Linked DNA regions of Homo sapiens: regions 2 and 3 are each linked to region 1. The links are contacts of gene promoters, found by promoter capture Hi-C in blood cells and fetal thymus (Javierre and others, 2016). All regions are on one chromosome and are shown on one strand. Each heading gives the region's core, a stretch centred on a gene start or on the middle of the fragment in contact. The rest is flanking DNA. Distances are from core to core; before and after follow the strand shown. Region 1 holds the start of PSMD14 (proteasome 26S subunit, non-ATPase 14). Region 2 overlaps FAP (fibroblast activation protein alpha). Region 3 holds the start of RBMS1 (RNA binding motif single stranded interacting protein 1).

The links. Contacts are between HindIII fragments. The CHiCAGO score rates a contact against its expected background, and 5 or more counts as called.
Region 2: a fragment that was not itself captured here is called in contact with the fragment with the promoter of PSMD14 in region 1 in 6 of 17 cell types (total CD4 T cells, M2 macrophages, naive CD8 T cells and 3 more); the score reaches 10.9 in total CD4 T cells.
Region 3: a contact is called between the fragment with the promoter of RBMS1 here and the fragment with the promoter of PSMD14 in region 1, in 2 of 17 cell types (total B cells and neutrophils). The highest score is 5.8, in total B cells.

What each region holds. Positions count from the first base shown.
Region 1 is chr2:161,306,473-161,310,820 of GRCh38, reverse strand. It overlaps PSMD14 (proteasome 26S subunit, non-ATPase 14), which reads right to left and starts at 2,396. Exons shown (of 12, transcript NM_005805.6): 1 at 2,217-2,396. RefSeq lists an enhancer at 2,069-2,528. The HindIII fragment of the contact is 7,205 bases long and covers 1-4,348 here.
Region 2 is chr2:162,184,599-162,188,946 of GRCh38, reverse strand. It overlaps FAP (fibroblast activation protein alpha), which reads left to right. Exons shown (of 26, transcript NM_004460.5): 20 at 584-778. Among named protein-coding and RNA genes, the nearest start is that of GCG, 35 kb to the right of the region's middle. RefSeq lists an enhancer at 3,986-4,155. The HindIII fragment of the contact is 3,463 bases long and covers 1-3,239 here.
Region 3 is chr2:160,491,303-160,495,650 of GRCh38, reverse strand. It overlaps RBMS1 (RNA binding motif single stranded interacting protein 1), which reads left to right and starts at 1,844. Exons shown (of 14, transcript NM_016836.4): 1 at 1,844-2,362. The coding sequence starts at 2,288. RefSeq lists a silencer at 1,417-1,596 and an enhancer at 1,783-2,303. The HindIII fragment of the contact is 13,330 bases long and covers 1-4,215 here.

The DNA of each region.
Region 1 (4,348 bases), core at 1,147-3,646:
AAAGGCTCTTGAACCAGTTGACCTCAATTTGAATCCGGCGTCACCACCTACTCACTATATGACACTAATTTTTACCCTCTTCTAGACTCTAGACCTCATTTATAAAGTGGGGATAACATCTACTTTGCAAGTCTGTTGTAAAAATACGTCCAAAGCAATTTATAGTGCCTGGAACATCCAAGGTACTCAATAAATGTTGTCGTTGCTATTCTTGTTATAATTGTTATTATTATCATTTTAGAACTAGAAGAGATTATTTAATCAAGTTCTCCCATTTCACAAATAAGGTCACCAAAGTATCACACACAAAGCAGAATACGAAATGTCAAAATGACTGCAACAAACAGGGAATATGACAAGTTCCTGAGCAAGAAATCACATGGATATTCAGGCAAGGCTTTCACAGGTGGACACTGAATTATTAAATGAACGTTACTACAAAATTGAAAATTAAAAAAGCACAGTTGCTTCTTGTTACTGAAATAAGAGGACTAGATTAATCTCTTCCACTTCTAAGATAATAACAATAACAACAGCAATAATATTTATTGACTTTCATACATATGGTTCACAAACTATATATTAACAAGCACATGGTTTACATGGCCAGTATGAAAATAAGATGAACCCATGTCAAACAGATTAAAATTCAGCTTTTTCTCTTTTTTTTGAGACAAAGTCTCACTCTGTTGCCCAAGCTGGAGTGCAGTTGCGCGATCTTGGCTCACTGCAACCTCCACCTCCCAGGTTCCACCTCCAGCCTCCTGAGGTAGCTGGGAATACAGGCACGTGCCACCATGCCCGGCTGATTTTTTTATACTTTTAGTAGAGACGGGTTTTCACTATGTTAGCCAGGCTAGTCTTGGCCAGGCTGGATCATCTCATGATCTGCCCACCTCAGCCTCCCAAAGTGCTGGGATTACAGGTGTGAGCCACCGCACCCGGCCTAAATTAAAATGGCAATGTATTATTTACCAAGCACTTTAGGCTGAAAAAAAAACAAAAAACCAAAAACTCCCAAAGTCAACAGGTGAAGCATCAATAAAAGATCATCACTTGAAAACTTTCTTCCCTTGGCAAGATTTAGGGACAAATTCAAGACAACATTTAGCCTTTTTCACTAAATAGCACTTCACTAAACACACCTTAACTGTAGTTAATTCAGAACCACTATATATCTTAACCTCTAAACTTCAAATGAGTCAGCTGGTAGGTAGCCTTACGTGACAGGAAGGCCACCATTATATTAATCATCTCCACTAAAACTGTGTTCATGTTTTTGTTATTTCTACAGTATCAGTGCATGTCTTGCTGCTTTTCTCAAACACATTAAGTCAGAAGCACTAAAAAAACACTTGTGACCAGTGGAACAAAATCACTTTCACACTATAACTCTATTTTATGCTCATTTTTAAACCCTTTCCCCTGCCTTTCCATAATATTTTATCAACTTATATTACCATTTATTTTCTCGAGAATTTTTCCTTCAGTCACTAGGTTTATAGACTCAAAAGTTTACATTCTTTTTCTTTTGACAGACACAGAGCTACATCCCCAGGAAAATTAAGTTGCAAGATGTAACATACGGTAGCAGATTTCTACTTTACTTAAAACGAGAAATGTAATCAATTTACCAACAATTACTCAATTAGTATGATATTGAAAGTAAGTTAACAGCCATAGTAGCACACTTTGTTTTTAAGATATTCAAGGTCCAAAAGCAGTGTATCTGCAGGACTTTTGTTTACTTTTTGGAGGGAGCTGAAAACCTAACACTAACAGAAAAAGGGTTAAGGCTTACAGGAAGGACAAGAGATAAAACAAACGTATTCAATGGGAAAGTTAATTCTACTCTCTCTCCCTTGTTTTCCCGGTCTGCTTTGAAAAACTTCAAAGCAGACCGGTTAACAACTATGGATAGAGCACAGACAAACAGGCCATAAACAAGGATTCTCTCTATATAGATGGAAGAGGTTCCCATGATGTGAATTCGGCCAAACAGAAAAGAATGGAGAAAGGAGGCGACATCCAGACCTGACCCTGCCAGAGAGCCCTGAGAGCAGGCGAAGAGAATGAAGGAGGCCGGGCTCCTCCCTCGCGGCCCAGGCCTCCTGTGGCAACTCAGCTGGGCAACGTGACTCAGGAAAGCACGGGGCTGGCGGCGGCCTAGCACGGCTGCCTCCCCAGACCTCCCAGGCCTGCCTTCTGGGTCTTACCTGAAGACGGGCGGGAGCCGGATGCCGCGATATGGACCCTTGTCTTGCCTCTGTGGTGACGCGAAGACAGAGGCAACAGCAGCAGCGGCGCACACCCGACGCGGCTCTGTCTGCAAACCGGCGATGAATCAGCCCGATTCCATTCAAAAGAGTTGCCCGGGCCTCCGCCGCGAAGCACTTCCGGGTTCACTAGTTTGCTTCGGCTTCCGTTCCCCGACGGCCAATTGGAGACGACGGAGAGTCAAGCGGATGTCCAGGAGGAGCTCTTGGGACAGACGGCGCGGGCGGCCCGGCGTCTCCTGTCTCTGGCAGGACTGTGAGGCGGCACTTAGCGCCCTGGTCGCTCGCGCCCCGCCGACGCCTCCTTTTTCTCTCCCTACCTCTGCGCTCTGCGGCCGCCGCTGAGATCTGGGACGGCGGCACATCCAGCCCGGGAGACGACTGGCTAGGAAATAGAACTGTTAGTATTTTGAAGCCCAGATCCCCTTTCGTTTTGGTGTTCACTACTATTATTGCCCTCCTCAAAAACTAAAAGGTTCATTTGAGCTAGATTTAACTTGGTTATCTGAGAAGAAAATTTTTTTAAAAGAGGGGGGATGGTGTGATTAGAGGGGACCGGTAAGACGCCCTTTTCTGTAAGTCCGCTTTATCCACCTCTTGTCATTATTGCTTTGCAAGGATTGGATTTCAGGGAAAACTAAGGTTTCCCAAATGTTCAAACCACCTATTTTAAGCCGAGTTTAGTTTACAGGGTTTAAAGAGTCATTTATTCACATTTCTCCATGTAATTATCGGCAATCACATTTTACTCATGATCTACTTTGTGCTAGGCTTTCAAAAAGCAAAGTTGCAGAAGATATACTTGACAAGTTGATATTACACTCTAGGTCTAGGTACAGTCTCTGTTTAAGGCAGCTTGTTTGCCACGTTCCTGTCACTTTCTCAAATATGTTCCAAATAACAAGCATCTTTAAAGCATTCCTAAATCGAGAATGGTGATGAATCTACTGGACAGAGGGTGAGGAAAGATTACAGCGCCTGGATCCAAACTGTGATTTGAGTAGCACAATTGCTTTAAGATATTAATACCTTTAAAAACACAAAGATTATTTTACTCATAGGTAATATTTGGATCCACATCTTTATGCTTCCCCCCCAAACCTATGCCTCTCTATTCATTTTTTATGGGAGGAGGGGGTGAGTAGCCCCGTCCTCCAAATAATTTTCCTAATCAGAAACTTAAGAGTATGAACACTTGCCTCTTTTTCATCTCTCCCCACTGTAGAAACCATGAAATGTGTAATCTCCATAACAGCTTTTCCAATCCACCACTTCCCCTTCTAAATACTCCCCACTTTGGCCTTAACTCAGACCTTCCTCACTTCTTTTTTATTTTATTTTATTTTATATGTATTTATTTATTAATGCATTTTTGAGTTAGGGTCTTGCTTTGTCACGCAGGCTGGAGTGCAGTGGCGCCATCTGGGCTCACTGCAACATCCCGTCCCCGGGCTCAGGCAACCCTCCCACTTCAGCCTCCTAGGTAGCTAGGGCTACAGGCGCTTGCCACCATGCCCAGTTAATTTTTATTTATGTTTTTATTTATTTTATTTTTTTAGTAGAGACAGGATTTCACCATGTTCCCCAGGCTACTTTTTTAGAATGCTCTTTGATCTTTCCGCCTTCGGTCTGATTCCTTTTAATCCATTCTCCACCTCACTGGTAAAAATTTTTGTGCTATATGTAGTCATGCTCCTTCTTTATTTAAAATTCCACTAGTGGCTCCCCATAACATTCATTATAAAGGTCAAAAAAAAAAAAAACCCTTAAACTTTGTTTGGAGCACCTTTTGCTCCAGCCATACTAAAGTATTTAGCTGGGGAATAAGATGTCCATAGGGCTTTGAAAAACGCTAACATATTCCTGAGACTGTAGAAGGTGCTTAGGGTGTGCATATGTCTAGGGTTATGTGAACACTCAAGATAGGCCTGAGAAGGCCCTGAGCTCTAACCTCTGGGTGACCTTGAGGCACTACAGAAGCAAGAAGTGAAGGCTAAGGCAGAATTATTTGGTTGGTTGGTGCAAAAAATTGCGGTTTTGTCATTTCAACGAAATTACTTTGGTACCAACCT
Region 2 (4,348 bases), core at 259-2,758, 880 kb before region 1:
CTATTTAAAATAGATTGAGGAAGTTTTGAGATTTTAGCTGGACTTGCTTGCATTTGCTGTGTTAAATTTCCTTTGTATGGCAATTTGCCGAATGTGTCAGAATACCTTTGAGATAGAGAAATTGCAGCCAAAAAAAATATTGTAAATCATCTTCACATCTTATGTAATTGAGTTAGAAATGAAATAAAGGAATAGAATACATTTAGTGGAATCACACCCAAAATCAGTGCTGACCTACACACAATTTGCTTAAAACACCATGCATTTTTTTTAGTATATCTTATGTCTGCTTTTAGCAAGTGGCAGGTGGCAGAAATGACGAAAAACCCACACATATTCCTTGAAATGCCAACCCTAGATGTATCCGTTTTGGGGAATAGGAGAGGCTGTGTCCCAAAACAACTTCCTTGTAGCAAACCTCTGGGAAAAGCCTGGACTCCTCTTGATTTTGAGCCAGTTCTAACGCCATTGTTATTTTATCACATAATTGTACTGGAATTACTAGAAGCAATGCTTGGCCAGGATGGGAAATTGAGTTTTACAAAGCAATCAAAGATTCTTGTTTTTTTTGTTTTTCCTTTAGGTATGGTGGTCCCTGCAGTCAGAGTGTAAGGTCTGTATTTGCTGTTAATTGGATATCTTATCTTGCAAGTAAGGAAGGGATGGTCATTGCCTTGGTGGATGGTCGAGGAACAGCTTTCCAAGGTGACAAACTCCTCTATGCAGTGTATCGAAAGCTGGGTGTTTATGAAGTTGAAGACCAGATTACAGCTGTCAGGTGAGCACCTTCTCATTCAAGCAGATGTCAACATGCAACAAAAGTCATGCAATCACTATTGTGTTTCTCCATTCTTCATGACTTAATTCTTTTGTTTTTCTTTTTCTAACTTGGTCTAAAACTATCACTAATCTTAAAGAGGTATTTCTGCCAAATATGAAAAAAAAGTATTTATGGAAGAGAGCTAACGAATGTGTAGAAAAATGATTTCAAGTGCTAAATGACAAATACCCTCTTTTGATGTGTTGTCATTCATTCCAATATCTTTTAATTTAGTTCCATTTCTTACAATTGATAGAAAAACTTTGAACTCTAATGATGATCTTCAGGAAAACAAATATCTGAATTTGCTCAAGCATTGTGGATTCTGCCTCTTAAGTTTAGAAATGGCTCAAGATTTTATCAGCACTACATACTTTTAGATGTTAGGCCTTCATTTGTGGTTAAACTAGCTATCAGTCGGCCATGGTAGCATGAAAGTGTTTGCCTATTTTCGTTTGACAAAAACATAGTCATTTTACACAACAGAAATTATATTATGAAAACATTTAGGGAAAACACAGATTCATAATCTGATTTCTTCTTCTCAACTATATATATTTTCAACCATGATTTATGGTTCAATCATCTTTTCCTGAAACAGGACTATATAGGCACCAAAATTGTGGCTTTTTTAGAAACACTGTGCAAATAATTCTTGCCATGTCTCTATAGTTGTTGGGTTTCATTATTATGTTATGAATAGGTGAAGCTAAGAATAATAGTTCGTAAATTTAAAAGGTAGCAGGCTAATTGCACTCTCAGTCGTGAATATATGTGCATGTGAGGAGCTAAAGGTCAAACACTGTTTCACAGGCAAAGAGAAATTTAGAAATTTCTTTAGTACATTTTTTATCCCCTTAATGTTATTAATACTTAATGATTTCACTGCAACATGCAGAATAAAGATTGTATTTAACAGCCTGGAGCCAGGCCTAGACAACACTTTTCTATATTTTTGTCTCTAATCAAAGCAGAAGAGTTTAGACTCACAAGTAATTATTTTTAAAAATAGAAAGGTGTCCATAACCCATACATTTTCAAGTGCTTCTTTCATTCTGGGAACAAACAAAATGTTCAATTAAAAAAAAAGTCTATCTGAGTACAATACGACAAATTAGTAAGTAGGTTACTAACACTAAAATCTGTAGCTATCACTCAATTTCTGGAAGCTCCCTCTTTCTTATGGACTCAGACTTTTGGCCTTTCAACTATTCACTTGTTTGGAGGAGATAGTTCAAAGAAAAACCCCACTGAGACATCAGTTTCTCCTATAAAGACTGTAGTGTGCCTTAATGAGAATATTAACGCCATCCTCAGAATTATAGCTTAATTCCATGGGGGACTTTTTTTAGCACCATGGCTCACATCTATTTGCATTTAAACCATGCAATAAACATCAAGGACATGTAATCCTGGGACTACATGAAAACAGAGATGAAAATTATGCCTCATTTATAATTTATTTAGATCTTTTCCAAAGCTGAAAGAGCTAAAAAGTTGTTTATTTTGGCATTGGTTAAAAAATCATTGTCTTCATCATCGTCATCATCGCAACCCACCAGTAACAACAAAATATGTCATTATACTTTTATGGGTTTATTTACCACCACAGATGCACCATTTGAACCTAAGAAGAAATAGCTTCTTAATATTTTCCTTGGATGAAATGAAAATTTAAACCTGAGCCATGATATTCAACATACAGGACACAAAGCCATAAATTCTACCTTCTACTGATTTTCGCAGTAATACCAATTTGTCTTTGGCATTTAGAATTGAAGATGGACTAGAGGTGGTAATTGGATACCTCTACTTTCTCTGAGCCATTTTTAGGATGGAATCTGAAGAAAGTCTTCCTGCTATAGGGAAAACATATGTTCACCCATATACTCAGCCATTCAACAACATAGCAAATATTAATATTAATACATGCCATTGCAGTACACTCTGTATAAAATTGTGCAATTTGCAATTTCTGTTTTCAGTGTGCTTGCAATCTGGTAAAAGTAAATAAGCCACCTACACTCTGAAGGGACAAAATTGTTGTTAGATCAAACTTTTAGTAAACACCCCAGAGAATATGGGCAGCTGCGTGGCCCCATGCAAAGTCTATAAACAACAGTGGAGATGACAGCCAGAGCTGGCCTTGGTTTTTGCTTGAAATTGTTCTTATGCAACTGTGAAAAGGAAGCCTTATAATCCAATGCTTTGAGAAAACAAAAGCTAAATAGGATAGACTCAGAATAATAATCCTAGGGATGATTCAATATACCTCCTAAGGAAGTGTTTTAGGAATCAGACACTAAATGCCTGACCTGGGGAATTGAGATTATAATACTTCTACTGTAGCCCTTAAATTGCCTCTCAGAGAATAAAATTTCTCCCCTGAATCTTTTACAAAATGCAATCTGGCTAAGCTTTTGACATACCAAAAGAAAATCGTACGTACATATTTGGAAACAACAGTAAATACTACTCAAGGCCAACAAATAGATTTAAACAAAGCAAAGTAGGGGAAAAAAAGAAGTCATATCGTCTTATAACTTCTATCTATGTGAAAGAAAATGCGTCAGAAGAGATGTTTGTGAAGCTACAGACATAAGGGAGACTGGAACCCGCTTTCTTTAGGTGTCTCTTCAAATGGTACATATGTGAGACCCTTAAAACTTTGGTGGTTATAAGGGCAACTTTGCTCATTTGGAGTATATTTGGCACTTTTGATATTCCCACAACTTTAAAATTTGATATAACTTGAGGGTTAGTGGTGGGGAAGAATTACATGAGATGAAATTTTCTATCATGCTTTTATAGATGGCATGAATAAGAATATTTCTAAAATAGGATAATAATTGATCGCTATGATTCCAAGTTTACCTTGGCCTTGGGCCAACTTTATGAGAGAAAAGTTATAAAGTTCAATCCAGACTCCAAGATTAGAAAAACATCCTTTTCATTTGTTACTGACATTTTGTTGATATAACCACATTATCAACAGTATTTACAACCCTCTGGGAAACTCTTCAGAATTTGAAGGTGAATTTTATAGTGCCTCGTTGGTCTGGAAGTGCTAAGATTATCTAGCTAACCTTTAACCTAGTCCTGCAACATTCAGTGTTAATGTTTCATTTCCATGTTAACTATTGCACTATCATTTCCTGTAAATGTCATCCTTTCAGAATAAACCTAGGAAGAGAGCTGTTAAGAGTTTCCTGTTCCCATGTATCACCTGTTATTTGCTCTTTACCCCAGATGTAAGGTAGTATGATTGTTGGCTTCTGGGAGATCATAAAATCACAATTGATTTTATGGCTCAGAACTGTCTTCAAGCACCAGTAGCAAGGTTATTTTTTTTTTAACAAGAAAGTGAACCTTCTCTTCTTTCATTTGATTTTTGAAGTTTGTGCAAGAATTGCTCAAGTGTCACAATTTGCTGCACATTTTCTCCTCTATACCATGAGCAGCATCCACACAGGTAGCAACTTTCCATTTGCTACTGCATTTCTTCTCTGTAGACTCCTCAGTGTCCTT
Region 3 (4,348 bases), core at 595-3,094, 810 kb after region 1:
ATAATACCAACTCAGTCATAAATCAAGTGTCTATACAAGTGTAGGTCTGCTTTTGGGCTCTCTAAAACAGGCTGAATTTCCATCATCCAGAAAAAACAGTAAGTAGAACAGTCTAAGTTTGGTAGTTTCCCTTATTACCTCAAACCTAGAACTTCTGCGATTGTTCTCGATTTACTTCTCTTCCTTCTGTCACTCTTCCAAACCATCATTCCTAGTCTTCCTAAAGCACAATTTAGTTCATGTCAGTTCCCTGTTTAAAAACATTAAAAGGCCCCACATTGAAACAATATGGGAAATATTTTAGGCTCCCCTAGTCTGACAGTGACCCATTCCACTTTTCAGGTCTGCATGCACCTCAACAGTGCCTACAATATAGCAGACATAGTAAATATTAGCTTCCTTATAGGCTTTTACATAGGTAAATGAGAGGGACATGATTTGCCTCCTGGCAGAGCCAAAATGTTCTCACCTATACTTATATTTATTTTGTTTTTGTCAAACATGTAAGATCTAGAAATTTGTCTAAACCATAGAACGATTATAAGGGTTTCAGGTCCTTATTTTGTCATTGTTTTAAAGTATCTTACTAAACCTATTTTAAAATGTTATCATATAAAAATAATAACTGTTTAACAAAATAATGCATTCCAGTTGAGTTTAATTTACCTTGTGCTATTAACAAAAGACTCTTCAAAAACCAAAATGACAAAGTAAACAAGGTCTATTTAATAACAAACACAGTTTTTTATTACATTTTATTAGATGTGCCGGAACCCTAATTTGAGGATGCTTGCTTACCTATGCTATCCGTATGTACATTTTGGTATTAGCTCTCTTTTTGAGCTGGAATATAAAAGTCTTCTGCAGGCAGCTTCGGGGACCAATTAATTCCATTAAATTATATCTAGTTATGTAGTGAACTGAACCACTGCTGGTCTGAGGCTGTCTAGAGCTGTGACAATTAGGAGATGGAGAGAGGCAGAAAGAGAGATTGATTTTATATGTCACTGAAGCACACTGCAACAATATGCCAGCGTGACTTTCAAAATGGCCTTAAAATATTCCAAACTCAGGGAGTTTCCTTGCTCCTGAGTGGGAGTTGACAGACTGTCTGGCAGCATTAGAAAGAGGCAGAGAAAAGCTGATGTCTATATTGTGTCCTCTAATAACATTCTGCCTCTTTGCGGCATCCCCCTCTTAGAAGGATCCGTCTATATGTTGTGAGGGGTGTGTGTGTGTGTGTGTGTGTGTGTGTATGTATGTATGTGCTTTGCCTCCCCTTGTGCAAGGGGCATGATTTCACGTCTCACATCTGGGAAAACCAAACCGAAGGACGCTAACCCTCCCAAGGTCACCTAGATTAGTCTTGTGGCCCCGGGTCGGGGGTGGGTGGGAGGAACAGAACCCAGGTGTCCAGACTCCAGCTTTGTTGGGCATTAAATCATTTTCCTTCCCTTGTGAAAAAAAATTACTGGGCGGTGGGAAGTGAACGATTAATCAGATTTCCTCTTTTCCCTTATTTCCCCTCCCCCTTACGAAGATAAAAACTCGGGAAAGCAAAAGAGGTGCCCGCCCTGCAGTTCTTAAGCTGGGTCCCCCCGCATTCCCCCTCCACCCCCACTCCCACTCCCATTTCCCCACCCCCGACACAAAGCGATCTGGACTCACAGGGCTTCCGCCCGTCCAACCGCGAGCCTGGGAGGTGAGGAGTGGTTAAAACTCAGCCCTCACCTCCAGCGGGTCCCGGGCTCGGCGGCGCCCAGGCCCCGCCCCCGCCCGCCCTTCCCCCACGGCCTCGGAACGCCAGCCCCTCTCCTCTCTCCACATCGGGCGCACCCACCCCAGATGCCGCCTGGCACCAAGCGCAGCCGCCGCTGCCGCACTTTCCACTTGTATTGATCACCTCTCAGCCCCGCGCAGCCGGCTCGCCCGAGCGGACCGCGGCCAGCGCGCCAGCCCTTGGCAGCCCCGGAGCAGTCGGGCTCCGGGAGGAAACTCCTTGGGAGCGCCCTGTCCGGGGTGCCCTCTGCGCTCTGCAGTGTCTTTCTTTCTGCCTGGGAGGAGGAGGAGGAGGAGGAAGAGGAGGAGGAGGAGGAGGAGGAGGAGGAAGAGGAGGAGGAGGAGGAGGACGTCTGGTCCCGGCTGGGAGGTGGAGCAGCGGCAGCAGCAGCAGCCGCCGCCGCCGCCGCCGCTGCCGCCGCCGCCGGAAAGGGAGAGGCAGGAGAGCCCGAGACTTGGAAACCCCAAAGTGTCCGCGACCCTGCACGGCAGGCTCCCTTCCAGCTTCATGGGCAAAGTGTGGAAACAGCAGATGTACCCTCAGTACGCCACCTACTATTACCCCCAGTATCTGCAAGCCAAGGTAAAGGGGCGCCGGGGAGAGGTGACGGCCGGAGGAGGGGGCCCGGGGACGCGCGCAGGGTCAGGCCTGGGGAGGGGGGCGCGCGGCGAACCCCCGCCACCGCCGGGCGGAGTTGCTGGAAGGTTGCTAACTATAGCGCTGGCCTGGGCAGAGCCGGGCGGCGCGCGGGGCGGCGGCTTCCCTGGGAGCGGAGTGCGGGGATCGGGTTACAGAAAGCCGCGGGGGGAGAGACTAGACAGGAAAGAGCCACCAGCCCCTTCCTGGCCCGGCCAGCGGGGAGGGTCGTGGGGTCGAGCGGCGCCCCTCGCCGAGCCCTGGCTGGCCGGCGGCCGTCGCCTGGTGTGCGCGTCTGGATCCGCTGGTGGCCCGGCTTTTCGACCCCTTCTCCAAGGGCCTCGCCCTGTAAGCTGTAACTCTTCGCTCCCCTCGCCGTGGCGCGGAGCCTCCCGCCCCCCAGGGACGCCCCTCCACCTCCCGCGCACGCGATGACTGGGGCTGGAGGGGCGGCGGGGCCGGGATATTTTCCTCCCCGCCTCCGGCCCTGAGCGCCCGCCCCTCGCCTCTGATCTTTGTGCGGTGTGGCACTTCACCTGGTTACTGATTTCTACTTTTACGCTGGTGTTTTGGGTAGAAAAGTGGCCAAAGTTCACTCGCGTTCATTGATGTCCCTTCTAATCTCTAGAGGTTTTGCAAAGGAGGGACAATGGGCAGATTTCAGTGCAGAGAAAGAAGTGACTTCGTATTTGGTTAAAAAAGAAACAAAAACAAAACTAGCTTATATGTTTGCCACAGATCGATTTCCAATGTTGCTTTTTAAAAAGTGACCTCGGCACACTCTTGGGTAACAACAGTTGATGACATGTAGCCATACAAATTGCGCCTGGCTTTCTAGGGACCCTGGGTACTTTGTTAGTGGGCCTATCTTATTTTTACAATAAGAATTTGATGCCTCCCGAACTCATTTAAAAAAATTATTTGGGCCATGAAGACTGGAAATTTCACTGCTTTGGAAGCAGCCGCCAGAATTTGGGAGGGTGGAAGTTGGACGCAGCAGCCTTCTTCAGCCATTAACATCTATCACAACTCTGGGTGCCCTTCTAGATCACAAAAGAATCAGGTATGGATGCAGTGTCCGAACTTTCTTTGGGAGGTTGTAATCATGCTCTGCTTGCTGGTAGTTGGGCATTTCCGGCCTGGTACAAAGAATCTCTGATTCAGCCTTTTCTTTCTTAGAATGTGTGTGGTCCACGTTTTCATGTACTTACGACATAGCCCTGTATTTGTCTACGTAAAAAGGACACTTGTCAGTTTCGAGACCAGAAATGTCCTAGCAATCCCGGGCCTCATTTTCACTTCCCCCAATTCCCACTTTACTTTGGGTCACCAGAAAGCAGCAAGATGGTAGCAGCAAGGATACCCCTTATTCATCTCTGTGTAGTTCTCACAGTATTTGTTTTAGGAACTTGCAGGAGATGCTAGTTTTCTGTGAGCTACATGGTAGCTGTTCAAAGAAATTTTGTGGCATAATCAATGCACTACCTTTTAGATATCTTATATATTTAATGCACTTGTTTAAATTATGCAGCATTGGGTGCCTAAAGGACAGCTTATTCAACACTTAACAATATGAATAATAAATACACCCACTCAGGTGAGGAAGAAAAAAAGCCATGTTTCTACAGGCACATTTACCTTAGTAATTTTTATATACCATTAGTAAGTTAGAAACCAAGTCCATACCATTTAATGTAGCTAATGCAATGCCATTTGGCTTTTTTGCCCTGTAAATAATTGAAGAGAGAGACAAACGGCAAGAGCCTGCTCTAGTAATTAGGGTCGGATCCCAGAAAGCTTTACGGCCCATTTTCTGAAAGTGTGCTTCCTGCATAAAGCATTTAATATTGATTTGTGTTGCGGTAAATGACATTCTCAAAACATTTTGCTAATTCTACAATTAAATCTGAAATCCTATTATTCGGAATTCCT